7 separate regions of the Homo sapiens genome follow, and all the other regions are linked to region 6. The links are contacts of gene promoters, found by promoter capture Hi-C in blood cells and fetal thymus (Javierre and others, 2016). All regions are on one chromosome and are shown on one strand. Each heading gives the region's core, a stretch centred on a gene start or on the middle of the fragment in contact. The rest is flanking DNA. Distances are from core to core; before and after follow the strand shown. Region 1 overlaps NEDD1 (NEDD1 gamma-tubulin ring complex targeting factor). Region 2 holds the start of METAP2 (methionyl aminopeptidase 2). Region 3 has its middle 5.0 kb from the start of CRADD. Region 4 holds the start of CAND1 (cullin associated and neddylation dissociated 1). Region 5 holds the start of NR2C1 (nuclear receptor subfamily 2 group C member 1). Region 6 holds the start of CCDC59 (coiled-coil domain containing 59). Region 7 holds the start of SOCS2-AS1 (SOCS2 antisense RNA 1).

Region 1 (3,794 bases), core at 171-2,670, about 15 Mb before region 6:
ATTTTATTTACCTTCTTTTACACGAATTGTAAATGGAACAATCAGTAAACACAAAACAGTAACTATTTTAAAACTAAAATGATTAAATACAATAATATAACTAAGAATAAGAGTCTGATTTTGAGAGCCATAACAAATTAAAATATCAGAAGTTTAAATCTGTGCTTTTTAGCAATTAAAATCTGTGAGTAAAAGCAATGGAGAAAGGTTAATTAGACACTCAGAATCCCTAACTGCATTAACTTTTGAATGTTCTGTATAACTTTCAGGTATTTTGTAAACAGAGCATAGACTGTAATTTTATTATGATACATGATGCAAATCAAATCATTCCTACCTAGATATTACCATAGCGAGAAAAACCATTTCCCTTTCCTTGACTTCTTCCTGTTTACCACTACTTTTCTCCTTAGAATATAGAAAAAAAAGGACTGAAACATAATGTGGGTGGGTAATCTAGTTCTTTTTTATTTCTCTTGTAGTTTTAGAAATCATGAGAAAGTGAGGAACGTAAGTTAAAGGACAAGAAACAAAAAACTAATCTCTCTGGTGTCTCACATTAACCCCATTCTTGGAATCTATACTATGTGGACCCCAAGTTGCTAAGGCTGGGAACTCCTTGTTCTTCAGTAATTAACCTCCATGGAAGTGATCAAAGCCTTATTAAGAATAAGACTGTATGAAGGCTTTCAGTGCACATCTGCTCATGCAAGAAAACTGTAAGACCAATTTCCAAAAGTCATACAACACTATCTCATAGCTACATCAGTTTTGTTGTTAGACTATTAAGTAGCACATCAGTAAATGCCAACTCCTAGTAAAACTTAAAACAAAAGTCAACCAAAAAATAATCTTACTACAAATTGCTACCTTTCTCTTATATAGTAAGAGGGAAAATTAAGCTCTAAACATAATGAAAATCTAAAAATAGAGAACAGCAACTTCATATACTTGTCGCTCTCTTTAAAATATTTTCCCTATTACACATCTGGAAAGTCCTTCAAAAATGTAGTCACTTCACCATGAGTTTGATTAACAGAGTACCAAAGTAATTTGTTTTACTGCAAAATCAAGGAATGATAAGGAGGTAAATTTAATTCAGTAAGAAAATTTGTCCTTCTTGTTATATACATGCAAGAATAGTAAGTCATATAAAACTTTTAATATTTTTGTTCCTGAACCAGTCACATTTTAAAGCTTTGATTTTTTTATCAGAAAGTAGAATACTTTGGTGTTGATAAAAATCAGATAAATGTTAAATCTTAATTTGTTAAGAAATAGCGTATGAGTTTCACAAAAGAAAATTTCTAACATACCAATTACATAAAACATTTTCACATAAAAGGTGATAGGAGCACTGTGGTCACAGCAGTGGTTCTCTACTGGGAGTGATTCAGGCAATTCTGGAAACGTTTTGGGTTGTCACAACTAGAGGCTATTGGTACCTAACGGGTGAAGACCAATAAACCTCCACGTGGTACAACATACAGGAAAGGTCCACAACAAATTTTCTGCCCCAAAAAGTCAATAGCACAGGGTTCAGAAACCCTAGTTTACAGTCTTCACTCCCTCATTTTATTTTATCCACATTGAGGAGCTCACCAAGACAGGGAAGGTGTCAATCAGAAACATAAAAAGCTTAGAAAAGTTCAATCTAGGTAACTTTACTATGTCTGTTTAGGAAATGTAATTTTCATCACACACACAGAGAGGAAGGAAGATATGGAGAGTACATTAGTAAGATGGAGATATTGGGCAATTTTTTATCTCCTCCCCAACTTGCTTCTGCCTTCAAGTTCTGTCTTTAATTTTCAGTTCAGATCCACAAATACCCAAATGTAGATGCAAAAACTCATTCCAAAACCTTTTGGAATTATTTCCACAACTACCAACCTTATTCCATTTGGTTCAATAAGAAATTTTTGATAACTAATTCTATGGTGTAGACAGAATATACTTTTTTTAATAGCAGTGTTTTCAAATGAAGTGGGTTGTAACTAAATTTTTTTTAAATGAACGCAACAGATAAAATCAGAGTGCATTCATATGATATATTGTTTTGTAAATTACTATTTTACGTTATCTATCCTTGGTAGCAATGCAAAACACATTACTCAGTATGAGGCACATGCAAAAGTTTCATTGACAGTGGTTGTTTAACCTAATAAGCGGTTTGTGTGTGTGTGTGTGTGTTTTTTTTTTTTAAAGGATACTATTGCTGCTCCAACATATTGAGCTGATTCCATGTGGTGATGTGTGTGGGTTGAATTTATCCACCAATGTCATAGATGAAGCATCCCATATTTTAATATCATCTCCTGATGAAGCAAATCTGAGGTTTTCCTGCATGACTGCGCCTACAAATAGTTTAAAACAATGTATTTTAAAAACATTTAAGAATAGACATACTCAAAAAAAGGTCAAAATCTAATCTAAAACAAGTGGCTCTAACTCATTCATTTTTGTTCCAAACAGTGCAGTCACCAAAGCAGTTGAAGTGATTTTCCTAAAACATAAGCCAGGTCGCATTCTCTTAGCTGACCCTTCCAATGGCTCCTCACAGTAATGATAATGAAATCCAGCCTCCTTAGCCTGCCTTACATGTCCTGGCCCCCATGTAACTCTCCTCTTTCTTTTCACTGGCCTTCTCTCTGCCTCATGCAAAGGCAAAGTCATTCTCACCTCAGTGTCTTTTCATTTGCTGCTCCCTGTGCCTAAGATGTTCTCCCCAGATTCCCATGGTCATCTCCTTCTCATCATTCAGGTCTTAGCTCAAATGTTTCCTCCTATGAAAGGCCTTTCCTGACCACCCTGGCTAACGCAGTCCCTTCCTTACCTGGTAAGGGACTTAGCAGTTTACCCTATATCCCAATACCTGATTTCATTTTTTTCATAGCACTTCCTAATATCTGAATTTTTTTTTTTTTTTTTTGAGACGGAGTTTCACTCTTGTTGTCCAGGCTGGAGTGCAATGGTGTGATCTCGGCTCACCACAACCTCCGCCTTCCAGGTTCAAGTGATTCTCCTGCCTCAGCCTCCCGAGTAGCTGGGATTACCGGCATGCACCACCACACCCGGCTAATTTTGTATTTTTAGTAGAGACGGGGTTTCTCCATGTTGGTCAGGCTGGTCTCGAACTCCTGACCTCAGGTGATCTGCCCGCCTCAGCCTCCCAAAGTGTTGGGACCACAGGCGTGAGCCACCGTGCCCAGCCACTATCTGAAATTTTTATTTGTTCTTATAATGTCTGTCTCCCCACACCAGAGTCTTGAAACATTCCTGGCACACAGCAGTTTCACAACAAATAACTACTAATAAGTAACTTCCTAATTTTTAAAAAAAGTATGATAAACTAGCATTTCTGCAGGTCAGAATCCAGTCACACCAGTTTTTCCAAAACTCTAAAATTAGCAATATGGTCAAATGAGACGCCACTAAGTCCCTATACCAATACTTGGACTACGATGCCTTCAATCATTTATTCAGAGCATACAGCTGAAACACGTAATTCTAACAAGGTGATTTCACAAACCAAGGAAGTCTAGAAAACAGAAGGCAAAGAAGCTGCTCTAGACAGGCACTTTAAAGAGCAACAGGTAGTAATGAACGATAAGTGAGAAAAAAAGATGCTCAAAAGTACATGGGAGAAAAGGAAAGGGAGAGGGCACAGAATTATACCTCCCACACCTTCCTAGTATGGAAAGTGCAAGACTACTGCACAGCATTAGTGATGTCACAGGCAGGTCCCCGAGTCACCAATACAACAGCACACCTACGTCTAGTATAAGCCATTT
Region 2 (3,524 bases), core at 981-3,480, about 13 Mb before region 6:
TGCTACCACACCCGGCTAAATTTTTTTTTGTCTTTTTAGAAGAGATGGGGTTTCAACATGTTGGCCAGGCTGGTCTCGAACTACTGACCTTATGTAATCCACCCGCCTCGACCTCCCAAAGTGCTGGGATTACAGGTGTGTGCCACCACACCCGGCTACATTTTCTAGCTTTTCTAACCACAAAGATCAAATTAACCATTTACCTTCATCATCTTCATCTCTTTCTTTATCTTCCAATGCTGATCTTTCCAACTGTCTTGCTACTTCATCCACTGAGGCTCCTGATTCTTTATCAGGTTCCTGTTCCCCTGCTGATCAAAATAAAATAGCAGAAATCAAATCTAATACAGACACTTTCCCACTAGAATATGCTCTAATGATCTTGGAAAACTTACAAATCCTTTCCTCAGGAAACAAAAACAGAAACATTATTGTGAACATAACAGAATTCGTTTAATGACAGAAAAATCTTCCATACCTACACAGTATTGTCCATTCATTAATTTACTCAACAAAATATCCATTACACACACTAGCAGCTAAAAGATAAACAGCGTGAACTGGTCTCTATCCTCAAGTAGTTTAACTTGTAATAGTGGTCAGCAATTAGACTTAACAAATACTTAAACACCAGATAGGTAATAAATGCTGAAGGCCTTAGGAAAAAGATTCATGTGCAACACCCCGGGGCAGCCTGGTTTCATGAATAAGGATATCACGATGGGCTGGGTAAAGTCAAAATAAATAGGCAAAGACAGTCCATTACTAAAAAACTAAAACGCTCAAATATCTAAGCACAAGACCAGGCCCCTGCTCTGGAAGTGATTATAACCTACCTATAAGAGCAATATGTTACATGCATTAATAGTATCAGGTAGCACGAAATGAAGTGACATTCTGGCTACTGGAGAGAATTCATATTAAGAAATACAACTGTTAAAAATACATTAGGATCAGTCAGCTTAACACCTTACAAGACAAACAGCAGTGTTTGAATTTCACTCGAAATCCAGGAACAGCCACCAGAGTAACAAATTTTGCTCTGGAAGAGTTCCAGCAACGCTACAACTCTCCTTCCATTCCTATCTAATCAAAATTTCAGAAAGATGAAGATTAGCTCTCTTCGACCTCTCTCAATTCCATCTTAATCGCTTCTGACTTCTCCATTTTCTGTTTCTCTGGCGATTTTAATTAGAAACAAGTAAAAATAATTTTTATTAAGGTGAAGGAGCTTGTGCAGCAAAAACACAGACTTCTCAAAATATGTAAGTTCCTAGTTCATAATATCCAACTGTAAACTCTCAGCAGTTCTCCTTGCCTTACCAGTGGATTTAGAGGTTAAGACCTCAGAAGTTCCATTCTGAGCCACAGAATATCCTATCTGCACTGCCTGCAATTGGTATCATAATTCAGGTCTAAAGGCCCTAAAGCTTGGCGATGCTATGGGATTAGGCAGGTGAAAATTCGTTATCACCACCACAAATTCTGCAATTAATGACATGAGCGCGCGGGCAAACACACATGTACACACACCCCAAAAGTGCAGGCTGCAACAACCCCAACGTGAAACGGGATAGTGGGAGGAGGTGTGCTCTCCATTACATTTGCCCACCCCCAAAGAAAATAAGTCCTAGCTTGCTCCAGCAAACCAGCAAAGACGCGGCAATACGGATCAGAATCGGATTTTTGAGGCGGCGGCCAAATCGCGCGAAAGATGGTAGGGCTGTGCTCTGCGCACAATCTCAAGACCGTGCCACGATGTGCGTGGGAGCTGAGTTCTGGTAATACAGGGGCTCGGGCCCAGCGACCCCAGAGGTACCACACGCCAACCTCAGGCACTCTTTTCTCCCCCACCAGCCCTCTAGTCCCACAGGAGGAGATGACGCCTCTTCTCAGACTAGGAATCTATAGCCCGGCTTTGCCACCCTGTCAGGCCCAAGAATCAGTCTAGTCGGGGCTCTGGGGCCCCGGTCCCGGCCCCCTCAACGGGCCTGAGCCAAACAGTTCAGCCGTTCCCGGAGGGGACTGGGAAAACATAAAACTCTCTTTACCTGCAGAAGGCCCTTTGCTCTTCTTCTTCTTTCGTCTTTTTTTCTTGGCTGCTTCCTCAGCCGTAGAGGCAGCTCCTTCTTCCCTGTCGTCTGGATCCAGGTCGCCATTCAGGTGGCTCCCGGAGGCCGCTACCTCCTCCACACCCGCCATGTTGCCCGAGAGAGCGCGAGGGAATGAGACAGAGCGGCGAGGGCCCCGATCCTTCTCCACCCGCCTACACCAGCCACGCCGGAAGCTGCTCTCGATGGTAGGGACGCAGGGAATGCTGGGACGGCGGAGGACTCAGCTGAGGGTGTCGGGCTAGCTTCGGGCCGGGCGTGCAGGAGTCTCGGCTTGGAGCCCCGCCTGGCTGGAGTCGACTGGGGCCAGACCCGACTGCTTCGTCCGGTGCCTCGGGCATTCCCGAAGCAAATCGGCAAGCGCAGGGTGAAGTTTAAAGGGGAAGTTGAGCTCTAGAGTCAGCCGGAGATACCTGTGGAGACGGGCAACCCGCCGTAGCAAGCGGCGTCTCTGCTGGAACGGAAATATTTTATATTTGCGTTTTTATAAATCACACAGGCAGTGGGGAAACGGGCTAAGAAATGTGTTCACTTGTACACATTTCTATTGTCATGACTCCACATATCTCTTAAATCTAAGAGATTTAATCAAATCTGCGTTGACATTCACAATCACAGCTCTCCGCGAGGCTCTGTAGGCACTGGAGAGAATTTTGGAAGCTGGAGTTCCGTGTTAGTTTATTGTACTACTCAACCCCGGACGGTTCAAGATGGGAACCCGTCACACTCCGCTCACTTTCCAATTCAGGACAAGAATGACAGGTTTTAACACACGGGGACACGGTCTCTCTCATTAATGCAAAAGATCACACTCCGTTTTCTCTATTTCTGGTCACCTTTCTTTTGGATTTAGGACGTTTCACCAGAAACTAATTGAATTTTGCCCATTTCTTTACTTCTTATGTTTTGAGCCTCATGTTCAAACCGCAGTTTGAGATTTAGTTTGTGGCGTAAGTGGATTGTGATTGGCTGCCTGCACCAACTCCTTCTCAATTTCTCCTGAATATGGCTTTGTCCACCTGGAGAGTTTAGGTGTTTTCATTAGTTTTAAACTAGGCACCAAGCTTCATGGGCATCAAAATGTCGTTAAGAGCCTTATTGCCAGTGAGTTTACAGTAAACCTCACACAGGCTCTGACTGCAGCTGCATAAATGTACATTCTCTGTCTTAAAGCTTCAGGCAGCACCTATCCAATAGTAATAAAAACTGTTCCTCTTATTCTTGTACAGATCTTTATCTCTTTAAATCTATCCCTATTTAGATTTTAAATTGTTTTCCCTAGTTGATTGCTGGCAATATAAAAGTTGGTAAACCGGCCGGGCGCTGTGGCTCACGCCTGTAATCCCAGCACTTTGGGAGGGCGAGGTGGGCAGATCACAAGGTCAGGAGTTCGAGACCAGCCTGGCCAATATG
Region 3 (3,720 bases), core at 56-2,555, about 11 Mb before region 6:
TCTTAAGCAACTAGGCTGAACGACTAGCCCACTGCCATCAGCCACCCCACCTCAGCATACAGCGATACTTCATGGCAGTACACCAAAGACCCAACTTTACTTAGACAGATTAGCTAAGGCCAGAGGGCTTCTAAGGAATGGAACACAGATCAGAATCATTATCACAGGTGGTTACTCCTCCGCTCTGGCCAGACCCTCTGTAATCTGAAATTGTGCCCCCACGGAGGATTAAGCACCTGTTACCCAGTGGTAACGAATCCACAGGAAGGACAGATATTTTCATTTTTCTCTCTCCCCTAGTATGTTTACTTGTGTCAAGATATCCCTATTGTGAGTTTGCAAAATAAAGAGTCAAAAAGAACAAATGCAGTATTTTTCTCTTTCGGTTTGGTCTTTGGTTTTGCAGCCTTCAAAAAATAAATAAAAGGAATTGGATGTTTTGGTTCTTCCTGTTTCATTGATGTAGAAATTAAGTCATGGGGAAAACCAGAGTCTTTTCAAGCATACTTGAAACATTTATTAAAATAGATCATAAATCAGGTCACAAAGAAGCATTAATAAATTCCTGAAAATCACTAGCATACAAACTATGTACTCTATAATTATACAATAAAATTAGATATTTTGACAAAAGGATAGCTTCCATAAATCCCATAAATTTGGAAACTAAATAAAACAATTCTTAAACCCTTGGGTTTAAAAAAAAGTCACACCTGTATAACTAATAAAACATAGAAAGAAAGAAAGAAAAAGAAAAACGTGATAGTAGAGAAACCTGGCAAACATCGCCTTAACCAAGTGATCAAGGTTAAACCTCCCCAGTAATTAGTCATGGAGATATCATGTGCTCCAATACGATGTGACAAGAAAGGCATATCTCCTTTGCAATATTCTCCTTTAAAATTCAGAACCTCAGTGTTTTTGTAAGAAAACATCAGACAAACTCAAACTGAGAGATATTCTGTTAGGTTGTTGCAAAACTAATTGTGGTTTTTGCCACTACAAAATATCTGACAAGTACTTTCAAAAGTGTCAAGGTCATGAAAGACTGAGAAATTGTTACAGATTGAAGAAGACAAGGAGGTGTGACAACTTGAGGCAGGGAAGGAGCAAGAGAGGGAGGATCAGAAGAGAAAGAAGGAGAAAAGGAACTCCATAAAGGACTTGCTCATAGTCAGGGAGAAATGAAAACTTCTGGGACCAAATTCCTAGTCCCCATTTTATCTTAGCTATTTTCTTGACATGCAGCATAGAATTTCATATGGTCTCTATTTCCTGGACCAACGCTCCCCAAAAAGAGATGAAATAAGAATTTGTCAAAAGAAATACAGACATCTATCCCTGTAACTGTAAATCCTTAAAAAAAAAAAAAACTCACTTGAAATATGCAAGTGTTGCCTCTTTCTGTATAACTTTTGATTAAGATATGCTGTAGATAATATCATCTGCACTAATAAATTATTATTTTACTAAGTTATGAATTCCAATGATTCATTCAATTCTTTGCTATCTAATTTTCATCTTAATTACTGTTTGTTGTAAAAATCCTGAGACTATTTACAAAAACCTTTTAAAAGAGCCAAATACATTATTATGCAGAGTATCATGTACTAATTTAATACTCCAACAATTCTAGAAATTTGAAGCATTACACCATAAGACTTTAGTGGTGGTAATACTAGGACTATTATAATTTATTAATAATTGACAACAAGAAGTTTCTATTGAGCATTGATTACATGCTATGGTCAGCTAGGGATAACCCACTGAAAGACAGAGATGGTCTTAGTCTTCATGGAACTTAGAATCCCGTGGAGAAAACAAACTTTAACAAGGAAACAAAACAAAAGTAATAATTACAAATTACTATAAGTGCAATGAAGGAAAGGTGCTTTAATAAGATAAACTGGTTCAGGGGCTGGGAGATGGGAGCTGATTCTAATTCAGTCTTCGGAGAAAGCCTCTCTGAGGAGATGACCTTTCTCCTAGTTTTCTTCCAAAGACTTGGCAGGAGTTATAAAACTGTACTACACACGTTTAAAAGATGTCCGGGCATAGTGGCTTACGCCTGTAATCCCAGCACTTTGGGAGGCCGAGGCAGGCAAATCAGTTGAGGTCAGGAGTTTGAGACCAGCCATGGCCAACATAGCCAAATCCCGTCTCTACTAAAAATACAAAAATTACCCCACCATGATGGCACGCGATTGTAATCCCAGCTACTCGGGAGGCTGAGGCAGGAGAATCACTTCAACCTGGGAGGTGGAGGTTGCAATGAGCTGAGAGCATGCCACTGGACTCCAGCCTGGGCAACAGAGAGAAACTCTGTCTCAAATAAGTAAATAAATAAATAAATAAATAACAGCTGGATTAAAAAAAAAACAAAAATCAAGAATTTAAGGTATTAGGACACAAAAAGGTATGAGGACATGTTAAAATAACTTCTTAGTTTCCTGGCACTCACAGTAAAAAGACAACATCATTCATATTACTGTAGAGTTCTCATCTCTCAAAGAAAGAAAATATACTGAGTCACCTAAAGGGACTAATATTTCTCTGGCACTGGTTTCAAGCAGCAATTTATCATATGATTCTTTCTATAAGGAATATCAGATAAGTTAATAAACTGCCATTTTCTCGTGTTATTTTGCATAAGATACTAAAATGTTCTTCAAATGACATTTCTGATCGTAACCCAATATAAACCACAAGATAATGCAGTCCAGGTAGTGACTTTCTGGTGATATAACTACATGCAGGGACTGAAAGAAACTAGTAAATGAATGCCACTTAGATTCTCTCAGGTACTAAGTAACAACCCTGAACTTCAGTATTCTGAATAGCAAAATTTAATAGCTAAAAATCTCTGCTGAATATCTACTGGGCTGACATTGCATATCATTGATGGAAGAGAAATACATACGGTTCAGATAGCAGACATGAAGGGGACTGATTTAACATTTTGTGGCAAACAATTTAATAGCTAACCTTCCATTCTCGTTCAAGCAAATTGACATAGAAGCAGGCTGCACTGGTACCAGGGAAGAGGGCCAAGATGTTTCTCAATGTACAACAAAAAGAGTTTGAACCTGTTTCAGAAGATGGCCAAGTATTTGGAGATCACAGAACTTGACATCACCAAGCATAAAGAAGTTATTTTGACATCCTCCCCCCAAAAAAATCCCTGAGTATTTTATTTGGCCATATTGACCACAAAAGAACTTCACCGTGGACCCTACTGAGAATTTCTTTCCAATCAGAATTACCTCACCATTGGTCTGCCAGGATGATTTATCAGTAAATGTCCCAAGTAGTTGAAGGAAGAAAGCTTTTATCTGGGGTTACTTAATAAATTTCATTTAAAAACTAAATGACTGCTAAATGTAATGATTTTTGTTTCCACATAATTAATGCTGGCTGTTCTTTCTGACAATAAGCCATCAAAAGCCTCTGCTGTATCTCTTTTTTTTTTTTTTTTTTTTTTGAGATGGAGTTTCACTCTTGTTGCCCAGGCTAGAGTGCAATGGCATGATCTCAGCTCACTGCAACCTCTGCCTCCCGGGTTCAAGAAATTCTCCTGTCTCAGCCTCCCAAGTGGCTGGGATTACAGATGCATGCCACTACGCCCGGCTAATTTTTGTATTTTTAATAGAGACGGAGTTTCATCATATTGGTCAGGCTGGTCTCGAACTCCTGACCTCAGGTGATCTGCCCACCTCGGCC
Region 4 (3,454 bases), core at 306-2,805, about 15 Mb after region 6:
AAACAAGCTCTTTAGTCACAATTTTAGTTGAAGACTATTTGTTATTTCCTTTAAAATGCACCCAAATTACAACCACTAAGCATTAGAGAACAAAACAGGTATAAGGAAATAAGCGATTTTTTTTTCTTTTTTTTTTTTTTTTTAGATTGAGAACTTATTTGTGAAGAGATGGGAGGCGGGAAAGAATGCAACAATCACCGAAGCGTGCAAGGAAAAATAAAAACAAAGATAACCTGTAAAAATATAACAAATCTTCACTATGCATATTACAACACTTTGGAACCAACAGTACCGATCTCCTGAACAGAACTGCTGTAATAAAGCTTCATATTCACCAGGTCCGTATTAAACATCTCTTCCTTTTGAAGATCCGTCTGCTATGATTAAGATCCAGCAATCCACCCCTTTGGCAGTGATTTTGGATATGAGGACATGAGACTGAAACCCCGAGTTCCTAAGTTGGTTTTACCTGACAAGAGGAACTGACAGTGATGCTGGCGGGAAAACCCTATGAGCGAAGTTTCCTCCATCCTGGCTCCCCTCCCCCTTCTTCCCACCTTCACGAAAATTAATAATCCACAAAAGAACTATGTATCAGCCAAGAGCGCAAAAGTTCATCATTCCACCTGAATGCAGCAAGGCCCACGCGCACCTGCGGGCAGAGAGGAGGCTGCCGGGTCCCCGAGTGGGCAGCAGCTTGGGCCCCAGCGAGCAAGGCGGCCTAGCGCCGCAGGATGGCAAGCGAATAGGCCCGGCGCCCGGTCTCCCGGCCTAGAGCAACTCCCTTCTCCACAATGGTGGGTGGTTTAGCCCCTTCGCGCTACCTGAGACGCAAGAATCGCCTCCTGGTGGGGCAGGGAAGGATGTGGGGGCGCTGAGACAAGCAAACGGGGCCTAGAGACCGCGGCGGGCAACTGCCTAGGAGAAAGAATGGGGGGAGGGGGTTGCAAGAGGGGAGAGGAAAGGGGCTCCGCAGGGATCGGGAGGCCAGCGGACCGGTGGGCTGGAGACTTCGGGGCAGAGAAGCTACCGGCTACGGCCGAAGGGGTGGGGCAAGGCCTGCGTGACGGCCAGGGCCGCGGCTGCGAGAACCCCGAGGTGGGGTGAGGGTCGGATCTCGGCCTCACCTAAAGTCCTTGTCGCTGGATGTCATTTTTTCCAGCAAATTGGAAATGTGGTACGAGGCGCTCGCCATGTTGACGGCCTCGATCCCGCCTGCTGGCGCTGCTGGAGCTGCTGCCCGCTGCCGCTGCCGCCGCCGCCGCCGCCACTGGAGCTCCTCCTCTCGCTCGCGGCGGCTCCCGCTTCCAGGGTCGCAGCGCGACGCCGACGCTGACTAGGGAGGCGCCTCGACGGGCTGCCCCCTCCCTGGCGAGGCGTGGGCCTGTCCCGGGGTAAGCCGAGGCTACAGAGCCAGCCTAACGACGGCGCTGTTCGCGTGAGAACGAGCTCATGGGCGGCGGGGCGTACAGAAGGGCCTCTACGGGGAGCCAGACACTTCCACTCAGGGCCGTCTCGCTCCCACTCGCTCCGCACTCGCTCCCTAGGGCAAAAGGCCAAAGCCCGCCTCCTTCGCTCCGGGGGCGGGGGCGGCAGACGCGGGCGCTACGGAAAGCTAAGGTCAGAGTTCACGGAGGCCTCCCCACGCACGCTGTGGAGAAGAGAGTTAAAAAACAATTCGGTTGGCTGAAGCCTGTGTCAGTTTTCATGTGACCCGCCTTTTGGAGGCATGACAACACAAAAAAAAGGGGCTGTTCTCGCGAGACTCTAAAGCGACGGTTAAGGGACAGGGGACGAGTGGAGCAAGTGGGCCTTAATCTGAAAATAACTTGATTGTTTAATGACATTAAGAGAAAAAGATTACGAGCTTTGAGAAGGAGGAAGCCTGGGAGTAACGACAGTTAAGGAGTTAGCTTGCGGAACCAACATAAGAATTTATAACAGGGAGGTGTCGTTTGGGATCAGACGCGTGGCCTGCATTGCCGTAGCCACCGTGGTGTAATGTTGCCACGTAAAAACCACAAATCCCAGAATTCAGTCGGGTGATACACTGGCTCAGAATGTGATTGGCTGCGGGAACTAGTAGCTTCCTCATTGGCTCCCGTGGAAGGAGTGAATGCTGGGATTTGCAGTCTGATGGGGGAGCCGTGCTGGGTAAAAACCTTAGAATCGTCGCGCACTCCGTTTCTGCCGCGGATTCTTATATTCTCCAATACAGGCTTTTTCTGTTATGCAGTATTTGCAGAGCAGGCTGCTGCAGTTTGGCCAGGCGCATTGCGGATCAGTTGGTGTTCTTGCCAGAGGCCTAGCAGCAGCTTCCTAGCGCTACTACTTGCACCTCCCAAGGCAGCTGAGCCTCCCCACTTCTCTGGCCAGACACACTCCTACCGTGCATCGTAGAACCACCTCTCTGACGCCAGCAGGACCTTAGTAAGAGTAATGGGTATGCGACAGATGGCTGTAGTCAGGCCCTACTGATTTCAAAATAGCTAAAAGACTATCTCTGTAGTTAGCTTTTGTGGCCTTGATGGACCTGCAGCTGTGTATTGCTCCCTCAGACGTACAAATTCGTGGAGATGAGTTATGAAAGTATTTAGTATCCAAGTTTTTCATCTGCTTAATATTTGGGATTTTAAACACAAGTTTTGCCAGCTAGGGGTCAACATCCCTGAAAGTGTTAGGGATGGAGCTAGCTGACAGGCCTTTCTAAAAGAACAGAGAGCCTGGTGAAGAGATGAAAAATCAATCTCACTTGATACTCCTGTTAAAAACAACAACAAACCTTTAAATAGCTCTCTACTAACACATAACTCAAATCCGATCAAATCTACCTGACCTTTACCATTGTTTTCTGTATTCATCAACTATTACTGAGTACTTCAAAGTCAGGCAATAGGAGTTAATAAAACAGATGAAACTTGGTTTAGCCTCATAATATGTGTTTAAATTTCACACATACCTCTGATCTGCTCTCATGTATCCTTCTACTTGAATGTATGTAATATAAAGGCCGGGTGCGGTGGCTCATGCCTGTAACCCCACCACTTTGGGAGGCCGAGGCGGGCAGATCAGGGCATCAGGAGTTCGAGACCAGCCTGGCCAATATGGTGAAACCCCATCTCTACTAAAAATACAAAAATTAGCTGGGCATGGTGGCGCGCCTGTAGTCACAGCTACTCGGGAGGCTGACGTAGAAAAATTGCTTGAACCCAGGAGGCGGAGGTTGCAGTGAGCCGAGATCGTGCCACTGCACTCCAGCCTGGGCGACAGAGTGAGACAACGTCTTAAAATGATAATAATAATATATACGTAATATATGATATTTTTTCTCCCCAGTAATGCCATATTTCATTTTACCAATCTGCCATGATTAATATATCTTTCATCAAACTGTCCTTAGTGCTTCAGCCACAATTAATTGCCTTTTGCTCTGAATAGCCTTTCCACCATATTT
Region 5 (3,855 bases), core at 325-2,824, about 13 Mb before region 6:
CCCCTCAAGACAGAGTCTTGCTCTGTCGCCCAGGCTGGAGTGCAGTGGCGCGATCTCGGCTCATTGCAATCTTCACTTCCTGGGTTCAAGCAATTCTCCTGCCTCAGCCTCCTGAGGAGCTGGGATGACAGGTGCGCACCACCATGCCCGGCTAATTTTTTGTATTTTTAGTAGAGACGGGATTTCACCATGTTGGCCAGGCTGGTCTCAAACTCTGACCTCAGGTGATCCACCCGCCTCAACCTCCCCAAGTGCTAGGATTACAGGCGTGAGCTACTGAGCCTGGCCAGCATCATAGATTTAAAGATGAACTTCGGCTAGAGTCACACATTTAAAGATGAACTTCGGCTGGGCACGGTGGCTCATGCCTGTAATCCCAGCACTTTGGGGAGGCCAAGGCGAGCGGATCACTTGAGGTGAGGAGTTCGAGACCAGCCTGGCCAACATGGTGAAACCCTGTCTCTACTAAAAATACAAAAAGCTTAGCCAGACATTGTGGTGTGCGCCTGTAATCCCAGCTACTCGGGAGGCTGAGGCACAAGAACCTCTTGAACCCAGGTGGCGGAGGTTGCAGTGAGCTGAGATCAAGCCACTGCACTCCAGCCTGGGCAACAGAGTGAGACTCTGTCTCAAAAATAAATAAACTTCATTTACCTCTTTTCCTGAAGCATAATTAATGGAAACGCTTCTTCACCTACAAATGATGTTCCTAAAATGGCTTCTACTTCCAAGTTTTAACAAGTCAACTTATTGTGACTTAAGTGAATTAATTGGGTGATAAGGGGTAACCACAAGCATCACTATAGGCATACATATTCTCCACCAAGAATAGTGAAGAGGTCTCAGATTGCCTGTATCCATTAGGCCTATAGTGCAGTCATGCACTGCATAACAATATTTCAGTCAAGGACAGACCACATATACAATAATGGTTGCATAAGATTATAATCCCCTATTTTTACTGCACTTTTTTTTTAAAAGGACTTAGTTTACTTTTTCTATGTTTATATATATTTAGATACACAAATACCTACCATTATGTTACAACTGCCTACAGTATTCAGTAACATGCTGTACGGGTTTGTCCTAGGTTTGTGACTTAAGAGCAACAGACTACAACATACAGCCTAGGTGTGTCTAGGCTAGACCATCTAGGTTTGTATAAGTACGCTCTATGATGAGAGTAAAATGAAATTGCCTAAGGACTCATTTCTCAGAACATATCCCTGACGTGACTATACTTTCATAATTTTCACCTTTGGGACCAGCTTATGGTATTGGCAGGGGTCTCCCTTAAAACCAAACCAAATACACAACAAATAATGCTAAAAGGTAGAGGTTGGAAAAAAAAAAAAGTTTCACTCTCGCCCAGGCTGGAATGCAATGGTGCCAACACTGGACCAGACTCCTGGGCTTAAGCAATCCTCCCACCTCAGCCTCCTCAGTAACTAGGAATACAGGCCTGCACCACCATGCCTTTTTTTTTTCTTTTTTTTTTAAGAGATGGAGTCTCACTATGTTGCCCAGGCTGGTCTCAAACTCCTGGCATCAAGCAAGCCTCCTACCTCAGCCTCCCAAGGCTCTGGGGGCAGAAGCCACTGTGCTCAGCAGAGGTGGATTTTTAATGAGGGATAAAGCATATTTTTACTTGTTAGGGATTGTTTCATGCCTTGATCTCTGTCCGTCTGCCTAGTTCCAGAGAGAAATAACAGAGATGTTCTCATTCCCAGCAAACGTTTGTTTTTCCTTCCTTGGATTTCTGCCCTGAGTTTGTGGCTGCTTTCCTACAGTGCCGACCTAAGCTAGATAAAATAGAAATTTCATGACAAAACAAAGGAGATTTAAAAAAAAACTAGAAATTTCAAGAATGCTTCAAAATCTAAAGCGCAGAGTACTTTGCACACAGGGCAGTTATTCCTGCCACACCTTGCCACTACAGGTGGCCACTGTCAGAATGCGATGTTCCACCAATGTCTCTTCATTTCACAATTTGAAAAATTTTTTTTGTGGAGGCAGGGTTTTGTTATCTTGCCCAAGCCGGTCTCCAACTGCTGGCCCCAAGTGATCTTTCCTTGGCCTCCCAGCAGCCACTTGCCTGGCTTTCATTTCATACATCATTATTGAATAGCAGGCATTGTCCTATGTGCTTGGTAATACATCACTGAGCAAAACAGACAAAAAACGGCCATTGAGGATAATCCTCAATATATAATAATATATATATTATAGAGAGGATGTGGAATATACATATATATGTGTGTGTGTATATATAGAGAGAGAGAGAAAGACTCATTGTGTCACCCAGGCTGGAGTGCGGTGGTGTGATCTTGGCTCACTGCCGTCTTGACTCAGGTGATCCTCCCACCTCAGCCTCCAAGTAATTGGGACGACAGGCACGCGCCACCAGGACTGGCTAATTTTTTTGTAGAGACGGGTTTTCGCCATGTTGGCCAGGCTGGCCTCAAACAACCGGGCTCAAGTGATCCGTCCGCCTCGGCCTCCCAACTTGCTGGGATTACAGGCGTGAGCTACCGTGCCCAGTCTCTAGTGATTATATTCTTGCCCTGTTTAGCCATTATGTCTCTTTACTCACAACAGTTTATAAGTGAAACTTTGCCTTACCATTTGCATGAGTCGGCCTCAGCTTGTCATTATATATAAAGCTTACTAATGTAAATGACGAGTTAATGGGTGCAGCACACCAACATGGCACATGTATACATATGTAACGAACCTGCACGTTGTGTACATGTACTCTAGAACTTAAAGTGTAATACAAAAAAAAAAAAGTTTAAATATGATTGGACTCTACCCCAGAGCCCAGTTTTCCAGAAATTAGAAACAGATATGCCTAAGACCCAGAGGGTTATTTATTACTCAAATCTAAAACGTTGACTCAAAACCTCCCCTAATGCCCACCTTTGGCAAACGATGCTTAAACCTTTGCACGTGGCTTCAAAAATTACCTGGCTGGGAACGCGTAGCTCTGGCGGGGCACTCTGCCTCCAAGCCAAAAGGGGGCAGTGGACTCACAGAGCCGCTGCTCGGCCCTCCGATCCCTCCACCCCACCCTGGGAACGTCACGACCTCCTCTCGCCGCTTCTCCCCGTTGCTAATGCGCAGGCGCTGGCGGGATAGCGCGCCGCCGAGCCGAGAAAGAGGTCACGAACTCTGACCCCCCAGAAATACCCAAACACAGAAAGCTCTCTCCGCCGTGAATCTCGATCCCACATCCCGTCGGCTTTCTTCAACCTCTCTTCCCGGAGCGCCCCCCAATCCACGAGTGGCAGCCGCGGGACTGTCGCGTCGGCGCCCGACGCCGGAGTCAGCAGGGCGCAAAAGCGCCGGTAAGAAACGCTGGGTGGGGACACCAGCGACCGCGTCGGGGGCGGGGGCCAGGGGGTGCCCTTCACCCCAACCGCCAACGGACGCGGTCCCAGCGCATCCCCCGGCCGGCGTCCTGCGGCCAGCGGAGCCGTTCAGTTTGGGAGCGCCGCTTGGGGCTGCTCGACTTCGGCTGGGAGCGCGGAGCTGCGGCGCCAAATGCGCGGGGCCCCGGGAGAGGCGGGGGCGACAGGGGCGGCGGGACGCGGGGCCGGACGGCGAGCGGCTTGGAGCACACAACCCCCTTTCCAGCTGCGCTTACCGCAGCGCCTCTGACCTTTAACCTGCAGGGAAAGCTTCCGCGGCGCTGCAGCTTTCCCCGCCCGGGAGAGCCGCGCGCAGCGCCGGGGCTTCCAGGGCGCACGGCTAACGCCGGCACGAGTGAGACGTGGGAGAGGCCGACCCTCGGCTAGTGGCCGCAAGTCCCGGCCTGCATCCCGTCACTAACTCCCGTGCTTTCACGGGACGGAC
Region 6 (3,614 bases), core at 595-3,094:
CTGACTCTACCATTGTCTGGAGACCAGGCTAAACACGTATTAAAGTCTTACACTCTAAACTTGAGAGTAGTTTCATTTTATTTATTTAAAACTAACATGAGTAACTCATTAATTCCTCCATTCAACAAATATTCATCCAGTATCTAATGTATGCCAAGTATTTTACCAAGTGCTGGGAATACATCAGTTGACAAGTCAGACAAAGACTCTGCTCTTTTGGAGTTTAAGTAAAATTGTCATATCATAAGTGCCATATATTTATTATGAGAGCAAACTGAAGAAGTGCCTAACTTTTCAATAACAATTACTTAAAAAAACAACAACAGTATTTACCAAGTGCTATTATAAGAGGTCCCTCTAGTGATGCTTTGCATTCAGAGAATGCTCAATGAATAAAGTTCACTAGTAAGGGTAACTTTGGGAAGTCTAGAAGGAAAGTAAAAATCCCAGAAGCCTGTTGGTGTCCATCATTCTACTTCCAAAATATGCTTGCCTGAGAAGAATCTACATTTCTTGAGGGTAGGAAAAGCTTGAGCCTACAAAAATTCAAGACACATATTAGGTACTTTAAAATAGTTTTTAAATGAAATAGTGACTATCCGAATACCATCCTAGTCCAAGATACAATCATCTGTTGTACTACTGAGGTAGTCTCCTAACTGGCCTCTCAGCTTCAGCTTTTGCCCTAGTCTATTCTTCAAATAATTCACAGTTATCTTTTCAAATGTGAATTAGGTCACTATGTTGCCTAAATAATCCCAAGGGTTTCCGTCACACTTAAAATCCAAAATCCTTCCAAGGCCTAGAAAGGCCTGTGCCATCTGGCCTCTGCTTGCCTCCCGTCCTGCACCTGCAGCCCCTCACCTGGCTAGAGCCAAGCCTAGCCTGCGGTTCCCACCGCCTGCAACCCCTCCCTGTGGCTCTGCAGCTAGTGCCTTCTCATGTTCCTGACCTCCTAAATTGAGGCAGCCTCCTTACACAATCCCTACCACATTACACTGTTTTTATTTTCTACTTCATTACCACCACTTGAAATTATCTTTATTAACTGTTGAGTAATCTTCCACCACATGCTGGCATTTATAAAACCTGTGAGAGCACTGCTCCCCTAGTTTCCCTAGCGTCAATTATTATGGAATTACTAGATGAAGGAACTCCCCTGCCCTGTTTCCTGCTTTCTTTAAATTGTGGACATACACAAGCACCCAAAGAAAGAGTGATCCTGATTCCAAAGAACATCCCCACCCCACCCCTCAACTAATCCGACCCCTCCTCGGTTTCCCAGCGGGCCGCCCCGCCTCCGCCGCCACGCACCTGGTTCTGCTGGCTTCCACCAGGGGGCTCGCTTCGTCTGCCGGGACCTTCTCCTCCGCCTCCCTTCCCGCCCCGCCTACCCCACCACCCACCTGCTTCCCACTCTGCTTCCACTAGGGGGCGCGTCTCTGAGGGCAGGGCCTCCGTCTCCGACGCTGACTTCCTCAGCGCAGCCAGCACTGTCTCCGGTGGCAAGTCGACCAGCTCCTCCCACACGGATTCTGTGTAGAAATCCACGGTATGTGCATTGGAAATGGACAGGGCATCCCTCAGGAACTGCAGCAGTCCCTGCAACTTGGCACGCAGCGTGGGCAGGTCCGGGGTCACCGGGAGAGGGCAAGAAGCCGCCATGACGCTCACCCTCCGAGGCTGTAGGTGGCGCAAACATGGCCGTGAGGCGCCAGCTCGGCCCAAATTAGCACAGGCAGGCTCAGTAGAGCTCCGAGCCGGATTCCTTCTGAGCGATTGATTGCTTCGGCTTGGTGACGTATTTTGTGGGCGTCCGTCGTGGTCTTCTGATGACGCAGTTAGTCGGCTGCAATGGCGCCGGTGAGGCGGTCCGCGAAGTGGCGGCCTGGTGGTATTGAGGCGCGTGGTGAAGGGGTTTCCACTGTCGGGTACAGGAATAAGAATGTGAGACAGAAGACATGGCGGCCTAACCACCCGCAAGCCTTCGTGGGGAGCGTTCGCGAGGGTATGTAAGAAGGCAACCATTTGCAAATCCTCAGGCTTGCTAAGTTTTAGGATATAAGATTCGCTGAAGCTTGGAAGAAGGATTTAGGAACCAGACCCGGTCCTACTTGGGGCAAGGGAATTCATTCCTGAGCCCGCTAAAGCTGTGAGCTTCGCAGAGCTCTAGATAGGAAGACGGAGCAGTGTTGCTATTATTTAAACGTCTTTTCTGACGTAACCCTGTATTTCATCAGAACTTTTTTCCTATATTTTTCCTGAGAAACTGAGCAGAGAGAGTCTATGACCCTGTGAACTCTTGCGCATGTGGTAAGGTAAAGGATAGAGAGGAGGACAGGGCCAGAAACACTGCTCCGAATTCTTCCTTATTACAAATACCCGAGGCCCTCCAGCCTTCGCTTTAATTTGTGTTTGTCATTTTGTATTGCTGTCTGTAAGGTCTCTTAGATCCCACTTGGAATATATAAATGTTAAATTCAGTCTTCCGATAATTGCTAGCTTTTCAGACAACCATACACTGTCTTTTTCTTTCGTGTTGAAACATTTTCGAAAACATGTAGTTTGTCCAAGATACTAGATGTGGCATTTTCTTTCCTATTTTTTAAGCATTTATTGAAGGCTCAGATTAAGTGTTTTAGATGAACTAAGGAATTTGTTTTGATTTGTGAATACAGCTGTAAACTCAAGTTGTGCAACAGTCTGAACTGGTCAGTTTTTCTTTGAGATTCTTACTTGGATTTCCGCATGACTGTTAGCCTGGTCTTTTTGCAAAGGGCCAACTTACTATGCAATCCATCAGCTTAAATTTGTTGCTTGAAATAATTTTTTAAAGCAAAATATAATACTAGAATCTGAATGTGATGACGTAAAAAAAGTTTTCATTTGTAATTAACAGCTCCATTCTTCGTTCAACTTCTTTTCTCTGAAAGTAATTTTGGATGATATTCCTCAATGTAGGACAAGGCTTTGCTTTTCGAAGAAAACTGAAAATACAGCAAAGTTACAAGAAATTGCTACGGAAGGAAAAGAAGGCTCAAACGTCACTGGAATCTCAATTCACAGATCGATACCCAGATAATCTGAAACATCTCTATTTAGCTGAAGAGGAAAGACATAGGAAGCAAGCAAGAAAAGTCGACCATCCTTTGTCAGAACAAGTTCACCAGCCGTTGCTTGAAGAACAGTGTAGCATTGACGAGCCTTTATTTGAAGATCAGTGTAGCTTTGACCAGCCTCAGCCAGAAGAACAATGTATTAAAACAGTAAAGTATGTATTTTCTTCATTTGAAATCCTTTAAGTGTTGTTTTATTATTTAAAAGTACTATAGGATAATTTATATAGGAATTGTATTTTTTCTTATTTAACACATTTTAGAAGTCACGGTTTAATTAGGGAAACATTTTCATGGAGGCTCTATTTTTAGCTTCAATAACTGAATTAGGCTGGTTTAGCCTAATTGACAAAGTAACGTAATGGGAATTAAGAGCTCTGGAATTTGGGTTTCTTCCTCTCAAGTACAGGTGGTAACTTGATTGGACCATATGTTATGACTATATTTTTGAAAAATAACTTCTGAGAGGTGTTATAATTTTAGTCATTAACAGTATGG
Region 7 (4,000 bases), core at 567-3,066, about 11 Mb before region 6:
ACTTTCCTTACGCATTCCCAAGGACCCAGGACCCTGCGAGCGTGCTCTCCGCGGTCCCTTGGAAGCAAGGGACGTATTTCCATCTTATTCTTTGCTTCCCACCTCGACCCCGCTTCCTAGCTGCTTCCTTGGGGAGGCGCTCCCTCCCGCACGCGTCGCGGCCGATCGGCTCCCTACCTGTCTGACCGAGCTCCCGCAGGGCCTTCGCCAGACGCGCCGCCTGCGGGGATGGCTCCTCCGCCGACCCCGCGGTCCCCCACTGGCTCCGCGTCCCTTCCCCGCCATTCCCGGAGGGCTCAAGGCACCGCAGGGTCATGAGAGAAGGGTCACCGCGGCAAAGACAGGTGGCCGCCCGAGCTGGGGTCAGAGAAGGGTTCGCGTCCTTCCTTGAAGTCAGTGCGAATCCCAAAACGAGTCCCTGCGGGGTGTCCGAAATGGTGGCAGAGAGAGAAGGGATGGGGCTCTTTCTCCCCAGATCCTGGAGGACGGATGACAAAGTCCCTCGCAGCCGCGGTCACCCACTGATCGCCTACAAAGAGAAAGCGGGAGGTTGGGTCAGTCCAAACTGGACCCCTGCGGCTGGGGTGGGGGTGGGGAAATAGACGTGGAAAATCCCAGGGACTCCTCCGCCTCTACGTTCCTGCACCATTTAACCCCAAGCTTCCAGTTAGCGCCCTGGCCCAGCTCTAGAGAAAAGATAAAGAGAGCAGAGATCCAAGATAAAGTTGGCTGAAGAGGTGGGGGGCGGAGGTCAGGAGGAGGGTGAACAGGGTGTCTTCCCGCCCAGGGTCACTAGCTGAAATCAAAGACTGGCGACCTAGGAAGAGCAAATAGTCACCTGCAGATCCAGTGGGAATAGGCCCTTGTCAAGGACAAGTAGAAAAAATTAAAAAGGAAAGAACAGGAGAGATTCCCCAAATTGGCATTCCGGTCTCACACCTGGCGCAGCCCGAGGGCCCCCAGGAAGAAGCACCCACACAAACTTGGTTCTCCGCCCTAAAGCGCTGCGGGGCCCCGAGGCACCAACCCGGGGTGCGGAGGTGCGGGAGCTGCCGCATCTCCGCCCGGGAGGCTCCTCGCTCCCCTCCCCCCGCTTCCTGGTGCCCGCTCTGGCGGGGTTGGGGGTGCCGCGGCGGTCGCTCCCGGACCAGGATGGCTGCGGTGGTTCTCGCCGCCGCGGGCGCTGTCGAGGAATCGGCCCGAGCGCGCAGCCCTCGCGGGGCTCCGAGGCGAGGCCGGGGCCGAGCGGGCGGTCGCGAGCGCTGCGGAAAATGCAAACCACCAACGCCGCGCTCTTACCTCGACCTCGGCCGCGGCCGCCGCCGCCGCCTCCGCACCAGGCAGCCTCCTCAGCGGACATGGGGCGGGGGGGTGGGGGGAAAAGGGGAGGTGGGAGGGGCCCGGGAGAGGAGGGGCGTCTGCCCTTGTTTCCCCCGTTAACGTTTAATTTGGGAACGAGATGCCCGGGGATGCAACCAGCCCCGCGCTCGGAGGCGGCGGTCGGAGTTCCGTGCGCAGAGGGCACACAAAAGCCTCGAGGATCATTGCCTCGACCCCATCCCCCACCGCGCGGCGACGCCCCCTACGGGCTGGGACACCTCCACTCTCGGACTGCTGCCGGGTTTCCCTCCGGCTGCGACCCTGGAGGTGGGAAGGAGAGAGGGAGGGAGGGAGGAAGGAGCGAGGGCGGGAGGCAGGCCGGTGGGGAGGAGCGGGAGATCAGGTTATTAGGAGGATTATTAATTTGAATGGCAGTTTAGGGGAAATAAAAAAAAGAAACTCCAGACACTTCCAGACGCCGAGAAGGGGCTGGAGAAAGCAGGCAGCAACGCTAGGCCGCGGGGCAGAGCCGCGGTTCGGACTCTCTCTTCCCCGGCGCTCCGAGCTGCGGAAGCCCAGGCCGTCCGCCGCTCCCCGGCGCACGCGGCCGCGCCTCGCCGCCCTCCCCGGTAACTCTCCTCGGGGCGGAGCCTTCGGGCTTCCCCCACTACCGGTACCTGCCGCGGGCGCCCGAGCTGCGGGCACGGGGTATCCTGAGGCTGTGCACCCGGGACCCCGGCGCGCACTGTCCGCGGGCCACGCGGTGAGGGTGGCTGCGGGCGAGAGGGCTCATGCTTCAGGGGAAGCCCAAGGCCCGCCAGCCGCGGCGGCTGCGACGAGACTTGGCAAGAGTTAAACGTCGGTCCCAGGAGCAGCGAGTGCGCGCGACTTCCCAGACCGACGCGCCTCCCTTGCTCCCCGCCTCCCTCCCCAGTCAGCGCTCCGCTCGCGCCCCGCCCGGCTGCTGCGGAGGCGGCTTTCCAGGAACTTTCCAGGAATCGGCCTCACGTGACCGCGGGCCCCGCTACTGCTTTAAAGAGGCTCGGTCGCAATACACAGGCTTCAGGGAAGACCGGGTGAGAGCGCTCGGGTGCAGGGCGGGCGGTGTGCACGCCGGGGTCGGCCTGCCTCTGGCCCCACACCCCGGGGTGCTCGGGCGCAAGCTAGAGATCTCCCCGGCCACCGGCTACAGCCAACCCCGTTTCGGCGGCCGGAGCCTGCCCCCTACCCGGGCCAGCTGAGCGCCCGGGTTCAGGGAAGGATAGCGATCCTTGGCCCTTGGCCTGCCACGGGGGTGGGTTCCTCTAAACATCCCGGCGGCGCCCCCTCGATGCGACCCTCCTGGCCGCACTTTTGCGGGGGGTGGGCGTGCAGGAGCGACTGTGGGTCCTCGGAAACCAGACTCTCCGGCTCTAAGACACATCGATGGCGTGGGGACGCCGTGCTCGTCCCGGTGCCCACGGCCGGGGACCGGAGGCGGTCCCCTTGATCAGGTCCTGGAAGGCAGCGAGCGGGAGAGCAGCGCCTCCTTAAGCGGCGCCGGCCGTCCTTAGTCCCCTCCCCCTGGCGCTCCGGCTCCTTGTCACCCGCACCCACCCGGCTCCTCCCTTCCTCCTCCCCTCTGCTCCAACGTCTCCGGTAGACCCGGCGGCCCGCCCGGGTCACCTGCGCCGGCTGCTAAGGGGGCGCCCTTACCTGCGCGCCCGGAAGGGGCTTGGTGACTGGCCTCGGTTCCCTCAGTCCGGAGAGTGTCTCTGCCATTCCCTGCAGGGCTGACGCCCCAGGGCTGGGATTCGGAAGGATCTCGGCACCTCTACCCTACCTGGGATTCTCACCTCCAACCCCGTTGGAGGCCCCCTGGCCTTAGTGGAAACTCATCTCCTTGTCTGCGCACCCGCCCCCGAAATATGACCTACTTGAAATGTGACCTACTTTTTAAAAGAAACCCTTAACAATCACGGGAAAACCGGATCCAAAATTTCGATAAGCATTTTTCTTTGAAATACTATTCTATTGCATCACTGCTCGAAAGCTTGAAAGGTCAATGGCCACTTTTAGTTGAGGCCGCGGCTATGGGAAGTTGGGCGAGGAAGGGGGAGGGGTGGGAGGGAGGCGCGTCTTGCAAACTTTGCCTGGTGCCCCCCCTGCCGGCTCTGGGAGGAAACGGGAACCAGCTCCCAACCTTGGGGTCTGCAGCCGGGGACCAATGGTTTTCTCAATAATTTTCCTGCTTTTGAGTACATAATTCTATGCAGATGATAAGCAGATGAGTCGGGGAGGGGGGCATTTCCCAGCTAACAAAGAGCTTTGTTAACGCTGGAGCCGTGTGCCCTTAATCATGTTTCGTTTTTTAGAAAGAGCCTTTTATAGTGTGGGCGGAGCTAACTGAACCCTAGTTAAAATCCTCTACAAAGTAGTTGAATAATTTTGCACAAGGCACTTACCCTCTTTGGACCTCTGGCCCTTTTTATAACATGAAGGGCTAGATTCGGGTTCTGGGTGAGGGACTGGGATAAAGGAACAAATCAGATTCCATGTGAAGCCTGTGTACAGTCTGAGGCCCCAAGCCTTTTAAGAACCACTATGTCTACTAGGGTTAACTGCCCTCTAAATTGTCCTAATATGGCTTCTTATTCCTTGATGGAGAATCCTAGAGGAAGGGTGTACCCACACTTTAGCT

What was found. The method cuts DNA at HindIII sites, captures the fragments that hold promoters and counts their contacts. A CHiCAGO score of 5 or more calls a contact.
Region 1: a contact is called between a fragment that was not itself captured here and the fragment with the promoter of CCDC59 in region 6, in 3 of 17 cell types (fetal thymus, total CD8 T cells and activated CD4 T cells). The highest score is 7.4, in fetal thymus.
Region 2: a contact is called between the fragment with the promoter of METAP2 here and the fragment with the promoter of CCDC59 in region 6, in 2 of 17 cell types (total CD8 T cells and non-activated CD4 T cells). The highest score is 12.5, in total CD8 T cells.
Region 3: a fragment that was not itself captured here is called in contact with the fragment with the promoter of CCDC59 in region 6 in 1 of 17 cell types (total CD8 T cells); the score reaches 6.0 in total CD8 T cells.
Region 4: a contact is called between the fragment with the promoter of CAND1 here and the fragment with the promoter of CCDC59 in region 6, in 1 of 17 cell types (total B cells). The highest score is 18.7, in total B cells.
Region 5: a fragment that was not itself captured here is called in contact with the fragment with the promoter of CCDC59 in region 6 in 1 of 17 cell types (total CD8 T cells); the score reaches 13.2 in total CD8 T cells.
Region 7: a contact is called between the fragment with the promoter of SOCS2-AS1 here and the fragment with the promoter of CCDC59 in region 6, in 1 of 17 cell types (total CD8 T cells). The highest score is 7.9, in total CD8 T cells.

The regions. Positions count from the first base shown.
Region 1 is chr12:96,908,315-96,912,108 of GRCh38, reverse strand. NEDD1 (NEDD1 gamma-tubulin ring complex targeting factor) reads right to left here. Exons shown (of 16, transcript NM_152905.4): 3 at 2,214-2,357. The coding sequence starts at 2,349. Among named protein-coding and RNA genes, the nearest start is that of NEDD1, 3.0 kb to the right of the region's middle. The HindIII fragment of the contact is 441 bases long and covers 1,200-1,640 here.
Region 2 is chr12:95,472,858-95,476,381 of GRCh38, reverse strand. It overlaps METAP2 (methionyl aminopeptidase 2), which reads right to left and starts at 2,230. Exons shown (of 11, transcript NM_006838.4): 1 at 2,052-2,230; 2 at 204-311. The coding sequence starts at 2,202. RefSeq lists an enhancer at 2,014-2,413. The HindIII fragment of the contact is 1,745 bases long and covers 1,433-3,177 here.
Region 3 is chr12:93,670,558-93,674,277 of GRCh38, reverse strand. No RefSeq gene overlaps it. Among named protein-coding and RNA genes, the nearest start is that of CRADD, 5.0 kb to the left of the region's middle. The HindIII fragment of the contact is 4,045 bases long and covers 1-3,327 here.
Region 4 is chr12:67,267,459-67,270,912 of GRCh38, reverse strand. CAND1 (cullin associated and neddylation dissociated 1) reads right to left here and starts at 1,555. Exons shown (of 15, transcript NM_018448.5): 1 at 1,128-1,555. The coding sequence starts at 1,195. RefSeq lists enhancers at 789-1,440, 1,720-1,979, 2,120-2,419. The HindIII fragment of the contact is 8,089 bases long and covers 326-3,454 here.
Region 5 is chr12:95,072,872-95,076,726 of GRCh38, reverse strand. NR2C1 (nuclear receptor subfamily 2 group C member 1) reads left to right here and starts at 3,109. Exons shown (of 14, transcript NM_003297.4): 1 at 3,109-3,347. RefSeq lists enhancers at 3,012-3,331, 3,022-3,522 and a silencer at 3,412-3,691. The HindIII fragment of the contact is 2,182 bases long and covers 484-2,665 here.
Region 6 is chr12:82,356,617-82,360,230 of GRCh38, reverse strand. It overlaps CCDC59 (coiled-coil domain containing 59), which reads left to right and starts at 1,844. Exons shown (of 4, transcript NM_014167.5): 1 at 1,844-2,008; 2 at 2,962-3,271. The coding sequence starts at 1,855. It overlaps METTL25 (methyltransferase like 25), which reads right to left and starts at 1,702. Exons shown (of 12, transcript NM_032230.3): 1 at 1,407-1,702. The coding sequence starts at 1,665. RefSeq lists enhancers at 914-1,474, 1,405-1,964, 1,475-2,035. The HindIII fragment of the contact is 1,548 bases long and covers 532-2,079 here.
Region 7 is chr12:93,569,214-93,573,213 of GRCh38, reverse strand. SOCS2-AS1 (SOCS2 antisense RNA 1) reads left to right here and starts at 1,816. Exons shown (of 4, transcript NR_038263.1): 1 at 1,816-1,949. It overlaps SOCS2 (suppressor of cytokine signaling 2), which reads right to left and starts at 539. Exons shown (of 2, transcript NM_001270471.2): 1 at 178-539. The coding sequence starts at 316. RefSeq lists silencers at 1,093-1,402, 1,413-1,462, 1,823-2,102, 2,473-2,662, 2,723-2,772. The HindIII fragment of the contact is 2,692 bases long and covers 663-3,354 here.